Regions from separate parts of the Homo sapiens genome. Here all the other regions are linked to region 1. Evidence: promoter capture Hi-C in 16 types of primary human blood cells and fetal thymus (Javierre and others, 2016). All regions are on one chromosome and are shown on one strand. The core of a region is centred on a gene start or on the middle of the fragment in contact, and the rest is flanking DNA. Distances in the headings are between cores, read along the strand shown.

What was found. The method cuts DNA at HindIII sites, captures the fragments that hold promoters and counts their contacts. A CHiCAGO score of 5 or more calls a contact.
Region 2: a contact is called between a fragment that was not itself captured here and the fragment with the promoter of CFAP161 in region 1, in 1 of 17 cell types (megakaryocytes). The highest score is 6.1, in megakaryocytes.
Region 3: a fragment that was not itself captured here is called in contact with the fragment with the promoter of CFAP161 in region 1 in 1 of 17 cell types (megakaryocytes); the score reaches 5.5 in megakaryocytes.

Annotation. Positions count from the first base shown.
Region 1 is chr15:81,131,859-81,136,109 of GRCh38, forward strand. It overlaps CFAP161 (cilia and flagella associated protein 161), which reads left to right and starts at 2,412. Exons shown (of 7, transcript NM_173528.4): 1 at 2,412-2,540; 2 at 3,412-3,501. The coding sequence starts at 2,472. The HindIII fragment of the contact is 5,504 bases long and covers 2,184-4,251 here.
Region 2 is chr15:81,265,111-81,269,361 of GRCh38, forward strand. IL16 (interleukin 16) reads left to right here. Exons shown (of 19, transcript NM_172217.5): 4 at 549-691. Among named protein-coding and RNA genes, the nearest start is that of STARD5, 57 kb to the right of the region's middle. RefSeq lists an enhancer at 189-258. The HindIII fragment of the contact is 3,577 bases long and covers 1,214-4,251 here.
Region 3 is chr15:80,992,664-80,996,914 of GRCh38, forward strand. No RefSeq gene overlaps it. Among named protein-coding and RNA genes, the nearest start is that of MIR4514, 2.7 kb to the right of the region's middle. The HindIII fragment of the contact is 7,858 bases long and covers 1-4,251 here.

The DNA of each region.
Region 1 (4,251 bases), core at 1,162-3,661:
GAGGTCAATATCCAAATATATCTAGTTAAAATATTAAAGACAAAGACAAAAAAAATCTTGAAAGCAGCAAGAGTATGTGTAAGGGAAGCAAAATAAGATTAATAGCTGATTTCTCATCAGAAATAATGGAGGCCATGGCTGGGCAGGGTGGCTTATGCCTGTAATCCCAGCACTTTGGAAGGCTGAGGAGGGCCGATCACTTGAGGTCAGGAGTTCAAGACCAGCCTGGCCAACCTGGTAAAACCCCATCTCTACTAAAAATACAAAAATTACCCAGGCATGGTGGCACATGCCTTTAGCCCCAGGTACTCAGGAGGCTGAGGCATGAGAATTGCTTGAACCTGGGAAGCAGAGGTTGCAGTGAGCCGAGATTGTGCTGCTGTACTCCAGCCAGGTTGATAGAGTGAGACTCTGTCTTGGAAGAAAAAGAAATAAGGGAGTCCAGAGGTAGTAGGATGGCATATTTAAAATATTGAAAGAAAGAAAAAAACGCTATCAACAAAGAATCATGTATCCAGAAAAAGCATCTTATTAAGGTAAGCAAAAACCAAGAGAATGTGTTGCTAGCAGACCTGATTTATAAGAAATATGGAAGGAAGTTATTCAGGTTGAAAACAACACAAAGCAGTAATTTGTGTTCATAGAAAAATACCATAGAGCACCAATAAAGATATTTCTTCTCCTGAGTGATTTAAAGCAATTGTATAAAACACTATGTATAATTGTATTATTGGGTCTATTATATATAGAAATGTAATATACTTGTCAAAAATAGCACTAAGGAAGTAGGTGGGAGCAAAGCTGTATCAGTGTAAGGACTTACTGAATGACCCAATCATTAGAACCTTGTTAAAAATGTAGAGACTAGAGCTGCTTTGTTTTATTCTTGATTTTATGAGGAATATGAAAAATACTTAAAAGGAAAAACAAACAAACATGACTTTGGAGTCGGAAAGTTTGGACTGAGTCCTTTCTTTGAGCAACTTTTAGCAGTTTGAATTTAGACTGCTAGCTTCTTTGAGTCTCAGTTTCTGAATTTATCAAATGCAGTTAGTGGTATACTATCTGATCTAACTGCTTTGTCCTATGTGTCCTTCAGAAGTATCCTCGAATGTGGTGATATATTGACAGAGCTGGTGGATTCATCAGAATGTGGGAATGTTCCTATTTTTATTCTACACTTCAGCCTGCCAGTTCAAATCCTTCCCAGTTCAGCTCCAAAGCAGCCCCTCTCCCATCACTCAAAGGCCATCCAATTCCCATTCTCACAGTTCCTCAAGACAGAAAGGATCCTTCAACTCCATGGCCCTTCATCAGCATATATATATATATATATATATATATATATATATATATATATATATATGTATTTTTTTTTAAATTGGAGATGGGGTCTCACTATGTTGCCCAGGCTGGTCTAGAACTCCTGGGCTCAAGTGATCCTCCTGCCTCGGCTTCCCAAAGTGCTGGATTATAGGCTTGAGCCACCACGCCAGCCCATCAGCACATCTTTAATTGCATTTTTCCACAGTCTTCCTTAAGTAATTCGTTTTCATGAACTATCTTTTCTTTTAGACTGGGTTTGCTGAAGGGAGCGGAGGCTCCTGTCTTCCATTTCAGTCATGTCTTACTAGACACTAAATAGAGGTAAATTACTGAATGCATTCAATCTGCATCAAGCCTCCGGTAGTCCTACAGTAACTGGTATCCCTCCCCTCCCCAGAAAATAATATTTTGTTTTATTAATGCTGGCTACAGCAGAGTCTGGTTTTCTTAAGAGTTCCTGCAAATCACAGGTTCGTCCTTTAACTTTGAGACCCAGGGAAGGAGGGAGCAAGGGAGGGAGGGAGGGAGGATGCTGTCAAGTCCGCAAAAATATGGACAACCTCAGAAACCTATAAACAGAAATATACTAACATGGTATATTTCTTACTTTTAAGGCCCTGAAATTATTAATTTTCCTTTCTTCTTTCTATGCGATTTTGGTTTCCAAATGTGTACATTGAGCAGGTATTGTTTTATGATTAGGGCGAAATTGCTGCTGCTGCTGCTGCTGCTGCTGCTGCTGATTACAAAAAATAGGCTGCAAGCAAGCCGTGCTTCCATTTAAAAGCTCCTCTTTGTTGCCTCGACAAGCAAGGGGTACTCGATAGCACTTTTCGGTTAGATTCTAATAGAAAGAAAGCTTTAAATTTCTCTCTCGGAAGCACTTTGTCAGCCAGGGTTTTCCCTCTCGCCCACCCTGCAGTTAAGGAAATCTAAGAGGTGGAAGTGGGGCGGGCTGGAGGGCCACAGACAGCCGCTGACCCAGACGCCCCATCTCCCGCCCCAGGGCGAGGGTGCGCGCTGTCGCTTATTGGCCAGCAGGGTCCCAGACCTTGACCAATCGCCTGGGGCCGGGTCGTCATGGCGACGCGCCACGCTAACGCATGGTGTCGGAGGGAGGCCCACTTGCTGAACAGCAGGGAGCGATGGCGCAGAACGTGTATGGTCCGGGAGTCCGGATAGGCAACTGGAATGAGGATGTCTACCTGGAGGAGGTACGCAGGGTGTGGCCAGGCGCAGACCCGCAGCTCAGGAACTCCCAGACCCTGCTCTAAGTTCAGTCTCCTACTTTGAGCGCCTCAAGCCTCCTCTCTCTCCCAGCATACAGCGAATACCTCTAAAATCCCCCACTTCTCTAAACTCCCAAGGAATCTCACCTGCCGAACTGCAAACCCAGGTCTCACTGACCTCTACTCCGAGCACCCTGACTTTTCTTTCTCTGGGTCCCTTGGCCTCCCAAAGTCAGATGCCTTGACTCTCAAGCCCCTGGCCTGTGTCTCCCGCTTAGTCTAGAGCCCCACTAAGTCCCCCGTATTCCTTAGAGTCTTACAGTCTCAGGCTGCGGGCCAGGTGAGGACACAGGTTCTAGGTAGAAATAATATCCCTCCCCACTCCAACCCTGCCACGCTTGCCCTCTTAAATGACCCTGAGTATTCCTTTTATTGACGTTGTACTCACTCACTGCCTCGTATTCTCCCAAGGGTGGTCTTAACAAGGCTTTGAGCCATTCGTATACGGGTCAGATTGGGGAGGGGTGAACTTTCTAGTGTCAGTCATCATACGGTCAAGGGAAACCCCAGCAGGGGAGACATGGCCTCCAAATGTCATTTAGGATGGTATCTGGCTGGAGTAATTACTGGTGATGTTTCTTTTTCTTTGTTTTGCCTTTCTCATTTTTCTAAACATTCTATAATGTAGTAAAAATATTAAAGTAGTGCTAAAAACGTTCCATCATTCCAATTATGCTCACATCTCTTTTTTTGTACTCAAATTTTGCTTTTTCAACTTGGAAGAGCTTCTGACCTAAAAGTTATTAATACTAACATCTATATTATTCAGGGCTACTTTTGTTGATTTTCTGTTTAGGAGCTCATGAAAGACTTCTTAGAGAAGAGAGACAAGGGGAAACTTCTCATACAGAGAAGTAGAAGACTAAAACAGAATCTCTTGAGACCGGTAACTTTTTTTTTTTTTATTACACTTTAAGTTTTAGGGTACATGTGCACAACGTGCAGGTTTGTTACATATGTATACATATGCTATGTTGGTGTGCTGCACCCATTAACTCGTCATTTAACATTAGGTATATCTCCTAATGCTATCCCTCTCCCCTCCCCCCACCCCACAACAGGCCCCAGTGTGCGATGTTCCCCTTCCTGTGTCCATGTGTTCTCCATTGTTCAATTCCCACCTATGAGTGAGAATATGCGGTGTTTGGTTTTCTGTCCCTGCGATAGTTTGCTCAGAATGATGGTTTCCAGCTTCATCCATGTCCCTACAAAGGACATGAACTCATCATTTTTTATGGCTGCATAGTATTCCATGGTGTATATGTGCCACATTTTCTTAATCCAGTCTATCGTTGTTGGACATTTAGGTTGGTTCCAAGTCTTTGCTATTGTGAATAGTGCCGCAGTTGGTGGGACTGTAAACTAGTTCAACCATTGTGGAAGTCAGTGTGGCAATTCCTCAGGGATCTAGAACTAGAAATACCATTTGACCCAGACATCCCATTACTGGGTATATACCCAAAGGATTATAAAACATGCTGCTATAAAGACACATGCACACGTATGTTTATTGAGACCGGTAACTTTAAATTCAGACATTGTTTTCAAAATTCTGTTGAACTTGGTGTGAGTATATGTTAAGCAAGAAAAAAATTTCATAACTGAGTTACCATTTGGAAAATAACAGTTTTTAAAA
Region 2 (4,251 bases), core at 1,752-4,251, 130 kb after region 1:
AGGAAGCCTGTCGCTTTGCATTTTTGCAGATATCCAAAGAATCAAGAGTTGTCTCCGTGTGTGTGTATCCCTGTGTGTGAGTGCCTGTGTAAGAGCCAGTCAGATAGGATCTCCCCTGCCCCTGTTCCTACTGGGTCTCGCCTGTTTGTGCTTGTCCTCGGAAACCTTTGTGTTTTCCTCCTTTCTCTCCTTGGTTGGGATTGAAAACACCGGGGCCTGGATCTGATGCAGCATTGTGGTTTCTGAGAGCTCAGCACACTGATTGACTTGCAGGAAATGCCTGTCAACTCTTGTTGCATTGAATGGAGGTAAAATGGAAGTGAGAGTCCCATCTGCACCCTGCAGTACAGACAGCATGCGTGGAGATCATGACAATGCTGCTCATGTCTTCCGCGGCCACCTCTCCCCACCACGCACCTGGCACAGGGTGTTAAGTGGTTTACAGTCACACTGGCCCCTGGCTAATGAGGGGCTGATATTGTTCTTAGTTGAACTTTGCATTTTGAGAGCACAAATGATTTCTTGCTGTTTTTCCTCTTCTGGTTTAGGTGTTAATCCCTATTGCACAAGAGAAATTGATTTTCCAATGACCAAGAAATCTGCAGCGCCCACGGACAGGCAGCCTTACTCTCTCTGCAGTAACAGGAAGTCCCTCTCTCAACAATTGGACTGTCCAGCAGGAAAGGCTGCGGTAAGAATGGAAGGAGGGAAACTCAGAGAAGAGTTTCTCCCGGGGAGAAGGGAGGGGCCCAACATTAACAGTGGCTGAAGAGGCCTTCCCAGTAGTTTTTTTGTCCGCAGAACTACAGAGGAGAGGGTCTCGCTTAGTAGCTGCAAGAAGGTACAACCATCTCTGGGCTGAGAACCGCATTAGAAATGGTCATCCATTGAGCGCCCCCTTGTGCCAGGCACTTGCAACTGCTGCCACGTGTGTGCTATTAAGAGCTAACATGTAGAGAACACGGCACGCGGGGGGACCCTGAACTATGGCTTTGCGTGGATCGCTTTATTTCATCTGCACATACTCCTAAGAGGTAGAAGAGGGAGCTACAGCTTGGGCAAGTTAAAGGATTTATGCACATTCACACTGTTGAGGAGAAACAGCTGGGACTTCAAGTCTGATCTTTATGACTCTGAAGCCTGTGCGAAAAGGCTTTTCACTCCTATAATCTAGTGACCTGCTTTACCAACATTGCCTCTAATTCTTAAAACAAGCTTAGAAAGGAATATGTTGTTAGTCCCATTTTATAGTAGGACACTGAGGCTTGGCAAAGTGAGTAGCTGGGTTTATGCATCTTAAAACCTATAGGACCAGAATTTAAACTGCCCTGTGTGCTCCTCAGTCCATGACCTTCCCACTACAGGTGTCAGCTTGCAGGCAGAGAGCTAAGCAGATATAAAGCACAGTGTACCCTACACACGTCCCACCAGCTTGCCTTTCAGCCCCAGCCAAAGCACGCTGTGCTGCACGCTGCCACTTTTGGTCACACAGCGCCCTCTGTCTGTAGCATCTCACCCCTCCTTCTCTGATCTCTATCTCTAGAAACTGCCCCAGCCTTCAAAAACCTTCCTAAGGTTCTCTTTTGCCTGGGAAAGCTCCTGATCTCTCCAAAGGCGTGGACTTCACATTTTCCCAAATGCCCATCAGGAAGCAACTGCACTCCTCTCACAGTGCTCACCCAGCCTGTCTTGTGAGTGTCATTTATGTTAGCATTTCATCTCACCAACTGACTCTCCCAAGGAGGGTCTCCACGGTCAAGCAATGTTTCCCTGCATAGTACATAATAGATGCTCAGTGAATTTCATCTCTCTCTTCCCTTCCTTTCCTTGAGTCAATGTGTTTTTCATTCCCAAACTGGGAGTGTGGTGTCCTAGTGTTAGAAGAAGGTGGCTTCCCTGGTGCCACCCTGAGCTGAGAACTTTCCCAGTCCCTGGTTTTCTGCACATCTGGGGTCATACAGGAGTACACTGGAGCCCTCCAATATCTGCAGCCAGCGCTGGGTCCCTGAGGATTGGGCTAGCGGGTACTTCCTGGGGGAAGCTGCTTCCTGTCTTTGCTGCCTCATGCACTAGGATCCAGGTCCTTGGGAACAGGAGGCCTACCTGGCCAGCAGGGATGGGCTAAAGATCAGCCAGTAGTAGCTGCCTGGGAGGCTGTGCTGAAGAGAATTGAGGGGTTACATTCCACCAGGAAGGAGTGCTTCAGGAGATTGGCAGTGTTTTGGGGACAGGAGTGGGAGACTCAGTTATTCCCTCTACTCAACTCCTCAAAGTTTAGGAGGCAATTAGACACTATGTTAGTTGGAGACAGAACCAATAAGAGATGTATAGATAGACACACATACACATACGCAGACACACATACACAGACACACACACACACACACACACACACAGAGAGAGCGAGAGACTGATCATAATGAATTGGTTGGTTTATGGGATTATGAAGGTAGGCAGGTTCCAAGATCTTTAGCATGAATTGACAAGCTGGAGACCCAGGGAAGCCTATGGTTTAGACCTAATTAGAGTCTAAAGGCCTGAGAACCAGGAGAGCCAATGGTGTGGTTCCCATCCAAAGGCCAGCAGGCTCAAGCCCAGGAAGGGCTGATTTTTCAGTTGGAATATAAAGACAGGAAAAAGGCTGATGTCCTAGTTCAAAGGCAGTCACGCACGAAGGATGCTTTCTAACTCAGGGGAGGTCTGTCTTTTCTCTATTCAGGACTTCAGCAGATTGGATGAGGCTCACCTGCATCAGGGCAGGTGATGTGCTTTGGCTACAGATTTCAATGCTCATCTCATTCCAAAGCACCCTCATAGACACACACAGAATAATGGTTGACTAAATATATGGGCACCCATGTGGCCCAGTCAAGTGGACACAGAAAATTAACCACCACGGATGTCCATGCGTGATTTCACATTGTCTTCATAACAGCCCTCCAAAGGAGGAGGAGAGGGAGTTATCAGAGGAAGGTTGTTTCTGGGAGAGAAGAAGAGAAAGTGGGATCCACAGTGGACGGGAAGGCCAGGGAGTGGCTTACAGGACCTGGGTATTTCCTGGGTGACTTTGGAGAGAGCGGCCCATCAGGTGTGGGCAACTGCAAGCCAACAAGAGAGAGGGTGATCCAGAGAAGAGCAGCTCGTTATCCAGGGAATGCTAGTAATAAAGAAAACATGCATTCCATGTTCGCTGCCTTCCAGGCATGAGGCGATGTGTTTTACAAACAGCTATACAGCCAAGGGAGTACAACCCAAAGAGCTAAGTACTGTTAATATCCACCTTTGACAGATACAGAGGCCAGGCTGAGAGAAGTTAAGTGGCCTTCCGAAGGTCATCTAATTCATAGCAACAGGATGGATATGAACACAGGCAGCTCAGAGCCCATGCCCTGCTGCTTCCTCTGCCCAGGTGGCATGGGGACAGCATGGGCCTGGGAGTCAGCAGCCCGGGATCCTGGTTCTGCCTTGCGGCATCTCCGATATCAGAGAGCAGGGAGCAAGCAGCTACCTCCACATTCACAGCTGATGTGTCTGCTTTCGTGGACATGCAGGAAGCACAGCCTTCAGCCCCAGACTCTTTCCAAATATTAAATGCTGAAAGTAGCAAACAGTCTTAGAATTTATAATAATGACAAGAAACATTTCTAAGGCACTTGCTATGTGTCGGGCACCATTTTAAGCACTCGCATAGATTTATTCTTCAAAATGACACTATTAGATAGGCCCCATTAGGACCATGCTTTTACAGCTGAGGAAACTGAGGCAGAGAGGGCTAAGTCACTAAGCTAAGGTCACCCGCCAGCTGATAATGGGCAGAGTCAGAAGAACCCAGACAATGGGGTTCCCAAGTCTAAGCTCTCACCACTAAGCCGTATTTCCCCTCTGCAGGGCGGCTTCCTGTGGCACATAGCTCTGGTTCTCATTCATGAATAGTTAAGCCTGTCTGCCTACCCCAAAATTACATTCTGAGTTTTGAAGTCTTTGGGCTCCGCCCCCTTGCCCACCACCTCCTGCCTGGCACAAGGGGAGTTCTCAGTAAATGTGTCTTGGATTGAACATAGTCTCAGGGCGTTCTTGGTAGCTGGCTTCCCAAATTCTGCCTGAGACCTGGCTTATGAGGACTTGTCCTGGAGGCAGCGTGTTCTGTGATGTTAACCTGGGCCCTACTTCCTTGATAAACCTTAGTGAGCCTTTTGGCTGCTCATCTACATCAGGCTCAGCAAAGCAGGCTCCTAGAACCAAGGAAGTCCC
Region 3 (4,251 bases), core at 466-2,965, 140 kb before region 1:
GAGGGTGAAGCAAGACTTTCTAGTACTATTTGGAAGCAGGCGGGGGTAATATTCAAAATGTTGAAAAACTGGAGTAGCACAATTACCAGTTAATCAGAACTGAGGCAGATGAGCTGATGGGTACAGTCACCATTGTGCCAAACATTAACCCTCTAATGACTGACTCATGGGAAGGCATAGGAGGAGAGGCCTGGGGATGGGCTGAGAGAGGTAATGAGTATTTACCATTTTGCACTTTTGTTGCTTTTTAATCCAATGTAAGAATAGACGTACTGCATACTTCCTGGGTTTTACCAGCCCCTAAATTTACTCACTTAAAAAATTTAATTACATAGACACGAATCATTCATTGTAGTTGCTAAATATTGGTAGCAACTAACTCGTTGCCTTTTGTTGGAATTTCAGATTTTCAGTAGAGAATGTGACTGGCCCAGTCTGAGGCAGGTGTCCATTCCTGGTCACCACCATTATTTTTGGGCAGAAGAGCATACTCACAGAGTTAAACATAATAATTAAAATTGTGTTTTCCTGGCTGGGCATGGTGGCTCATGCCTATAATCCCAGCACTTTGGGAGGCTGAGGCGGGCAGATCGCCTGAGGTCAGGAGTTTGAGACCAGCCTGGCCAAGATGGTGAAACCCCGTCTCTACTAAAAATACAAAAATTAGCTGGGTGTGGTGGCATGCACCTGTAATCCCAGCTACTCGGGAGGCTGAGGCAGGAGAATTGCTTGAACCCGGGAGGCAGAGGTGGCAGTGAGCCGAGGTTGTGCCACTGCACTCTAGCCTGGGTGACAGAGTAACACTCTGTCTCCAAAAAAAAAAAACAACTTATAAATCAATAAGAAAAAGATGAACAACCAAATGAAAAACGGTCTAGGACATGAATAGGTAATTCCCAAAAGAATAAATATAAATGGCCAGTTCACATGTGGCAAAAACAAAACAAAACACAGAATCTCTCTAATATCAAAAAATGCAAATTCAAACATGTTATAATTTTTAAATTATCAGTTGATCCTGGATAAAAATACAGACAGTATACACTGTTGACAAGGCTAAGGAAAGAAGTCTTCTCACTCACTTCTCGGGGGATGGAGTTTTCTGCTTGAAAATTAGGTGAAATGTATCAACTCCCCCTCCCCACAAAAAAGTGCATAATATGATTAGCAAGTCTACTTCCAAGAACTTGACTCTGAGGAAACAGACAATGAAAATAATAGTAATGTTAATATTGAGCACTTACTATTCGACAGGCATTCTGCTGAGTGCTTTCCGTGTATTTCTTCACTTACCCAATGTAACAATCCTATAACACTCTCCATGAGTGGGGAAAATGAGAACAACTCTAAGTGTTTCAAAAATTGTAGACTATAAAATCTACATTTACAGTTGCAAGCTGTATTCCACACATATGATGGATAATATGCAATCAAATATATATATTTGTTGCTACTAAAGATATTCATTTTATACTATATGATTTTAAATGCTATTAAAATTATACAGATATATATCTATGTATAGGAAAAGAGCTGCAAATATGTATACGATGGCTGTCTCTAAGCAGTGAGATTCCAAAATATTTTAACCTTTTCTCTGTATTTTCTATTTTTCTTCACATCTAACATACGTCAGTGGTGGTGTGTTGTTTTTGTTTGTTTGTTTTTTTGAGACAGGGTCTTGCTCTGTCACCCAGACTGGAGTGCAGCGGCCAGATATTGGCTCTCTGCAACCTCCACCTCTCAGGCTCAAGGGATCCTCCCGCCTCAGCCTCCCATACCACACCTGGCTAATTTTTGCATTTTTTTTTCTTTTTTGAGACAGAGTTGCACTGTGTAGCCCAGGCTGGAGTGCAGTGGTGCGATCTCAGCTCACTGCAACCTCTGCCTCCCGGGCCCCAGTTCAAGCAATTGTCCTGCCTCAGCCTCCTGAGTAGCTGGGATTACAGGCACATGCCACCATGTCCGGCTAATTTTTGTATTTTTAGTAGAGACAGGGGTTTCACCATGTTGGCCAGGCTGGTCTTGAACTCCTAACCTCGTGATCCACCCGCCTTGGCCTCCCAAAGTGCATTTTTTTTTTTTTAAAGGATGGGTTTTCACCATGTTGCCCAAGCTGGTCTAGAACTTTTGGGCACAAGTGATCCATCCACCTCGCCCTGCCAGAGTGCTGGAATTATAGGCGGGAACTGCCGCGCCTGGCCCACTTGTGCTTTAAAAGGAGAGACACACATAAACACACTGCTGCTTACAAAATGTGAATTGATACCCTTCTTTCCACCAATATGTAAGGGTGAAAAGTCTAATTTCAATGGAAATTATCAGAATAATACATGTAATTCAAATTATCTACAATAGTGCAATGGCCTTGAAAATTTGGGGATGAGATCTGAATCTCTGAAGAAGGCAGGACTTTTATCTGTGTCATCTGAAAAAATTACATGTACTTTGCAGCACAGATATATGCAGTTATGTTCAGAAAATTCAGTCTGTTTCCAAAGAATCACCTCCCTGGACTATCTCAAACAAGCTGTAAGAAAAATGAGGTGAACACACTTGCTAAGCAAACAGGCCTCAGGCCTCCCCTTCAATCTTAAGAGTTGTGAGCTGTTAGGTCATGACCAGACCTAGACTGTACCCCTGCTGTTGTTTCATGAATATCCATGACTTTCTGTCCGTTACTGAATAAAAGTTGTGAGCAGCCAGAGTTTGGTTCAATAAAAGGGCACCTTTCTTGCACAGAGACTTAACAGATAAAATAATTCATTAACTTATTAATGCCATAAACACTGAATACATTAAATGTGGGGGAAAGATGCATAGATCAAGTCCCTGCCCTTACAGAGATGATAGGGTTGTGGAGAGAGTTACACCAACAGTTACAAGTACTTGACGCCACTCTGAAGCTGAGCAGGCATCATAGTAGCTACAAGGGGGGGAAGAAATACCTGGGTCTGTCTGAAAGATCAGGGAACCTCCTTGTGAGGCACCAATACATCTAATCACTCTGTAGTTACTGACTACTAGGCACCATGAGAGATGTCAAAACTTGGTCAGGCATGATTAGTGTTAAGACCAGGGTGCCTGAAACTTAGCACTTGTTTTTTCTCTTCTTCAGGATGCTGGAAAATAGAAAATACATCCAAAGATGGCTGGCCAGTAAATGAATGGGGTACAGAATTTATTAATCTGTGCAAGCAAACTTTGCCTCCATGGAGGGTGCTCTGGTAAACTAATGCAGAAAATTCCAGCTCTCCTAGACTTCAGGACCTGCATGCTCAGGTGTGCCTGCCAAGGTATAACTGGTCCAGCACACAGGGCTCCCTCACACACCCAGCTGCAGGTGAACAGAGAGAAAGCATGGAGGGAGGAAGGGAGGGTGGAAAGTGGGGCTGGGGAGGAAATGGGAGTGATGTGTGAGGTACTGCCCAGGTGTTCTTACTGGATGGGAACAAAATATGCCAGAGAGCAAGAGGACATGCCAGGTAAGGAGAGCGAGGTGTTAGACAGTGATCTTGCTCCCTGGTGAACCAGGGGCTGTTGTCATGCATCACCTATGACAATGAAGGAATCTGGGGAAAAGAAGGAGAGATATAAATTCCTCTCTTTTACAACAGATAGTGAAAGGGAAATAATGCATATGTATAAGAAAGATAGCCTGAGATGTAATTGGCCCATCTGTGTGCACAAAAGCAAAACAGAGGGACATTGCTCCAAAGGGAAAAATAATTAGGGCAGAGAATGCCTCTTACTGACCAACAGGTGGCACTACAGACCAAACACAGCATGGTTGTTGGTCTGTAAAGTGTGGGGTAGTGTGAAAGTTGGGTATCAAAACCCAGAGTGGCCAGACAGGCTCACACCTGTAATCTCAGCACTTTGGGAGGCTAAGGTGAGAGGACCACTTGAGGCCAAGGGTGTGAGACCAGTCTGGATATCAAAGTGAGACTGTGTCTCTGAGACTTTCTCGCTACTAAATAAATAAATAAATAAATTTTTGATAGAATGAAAAGATCCGGAGTGCTTACAATGGAATACCGTTCACCCATAAAAAAGAAGGGAAATTCCCATGTATGCTATAATATCAATGAATCTTAAAGACATTATGTTAAGGCTGGGCACGTGGCTCATGCCTGTAATCCCAGCACTTTGGGAGGCCAAGGCAGGCGCATCACGAGGTCAGGAGATCGAGACCATCCTGGCTAACACAGTGAAACCCCGTCTCTACTAAAAATACAAAAAAAAATTAGC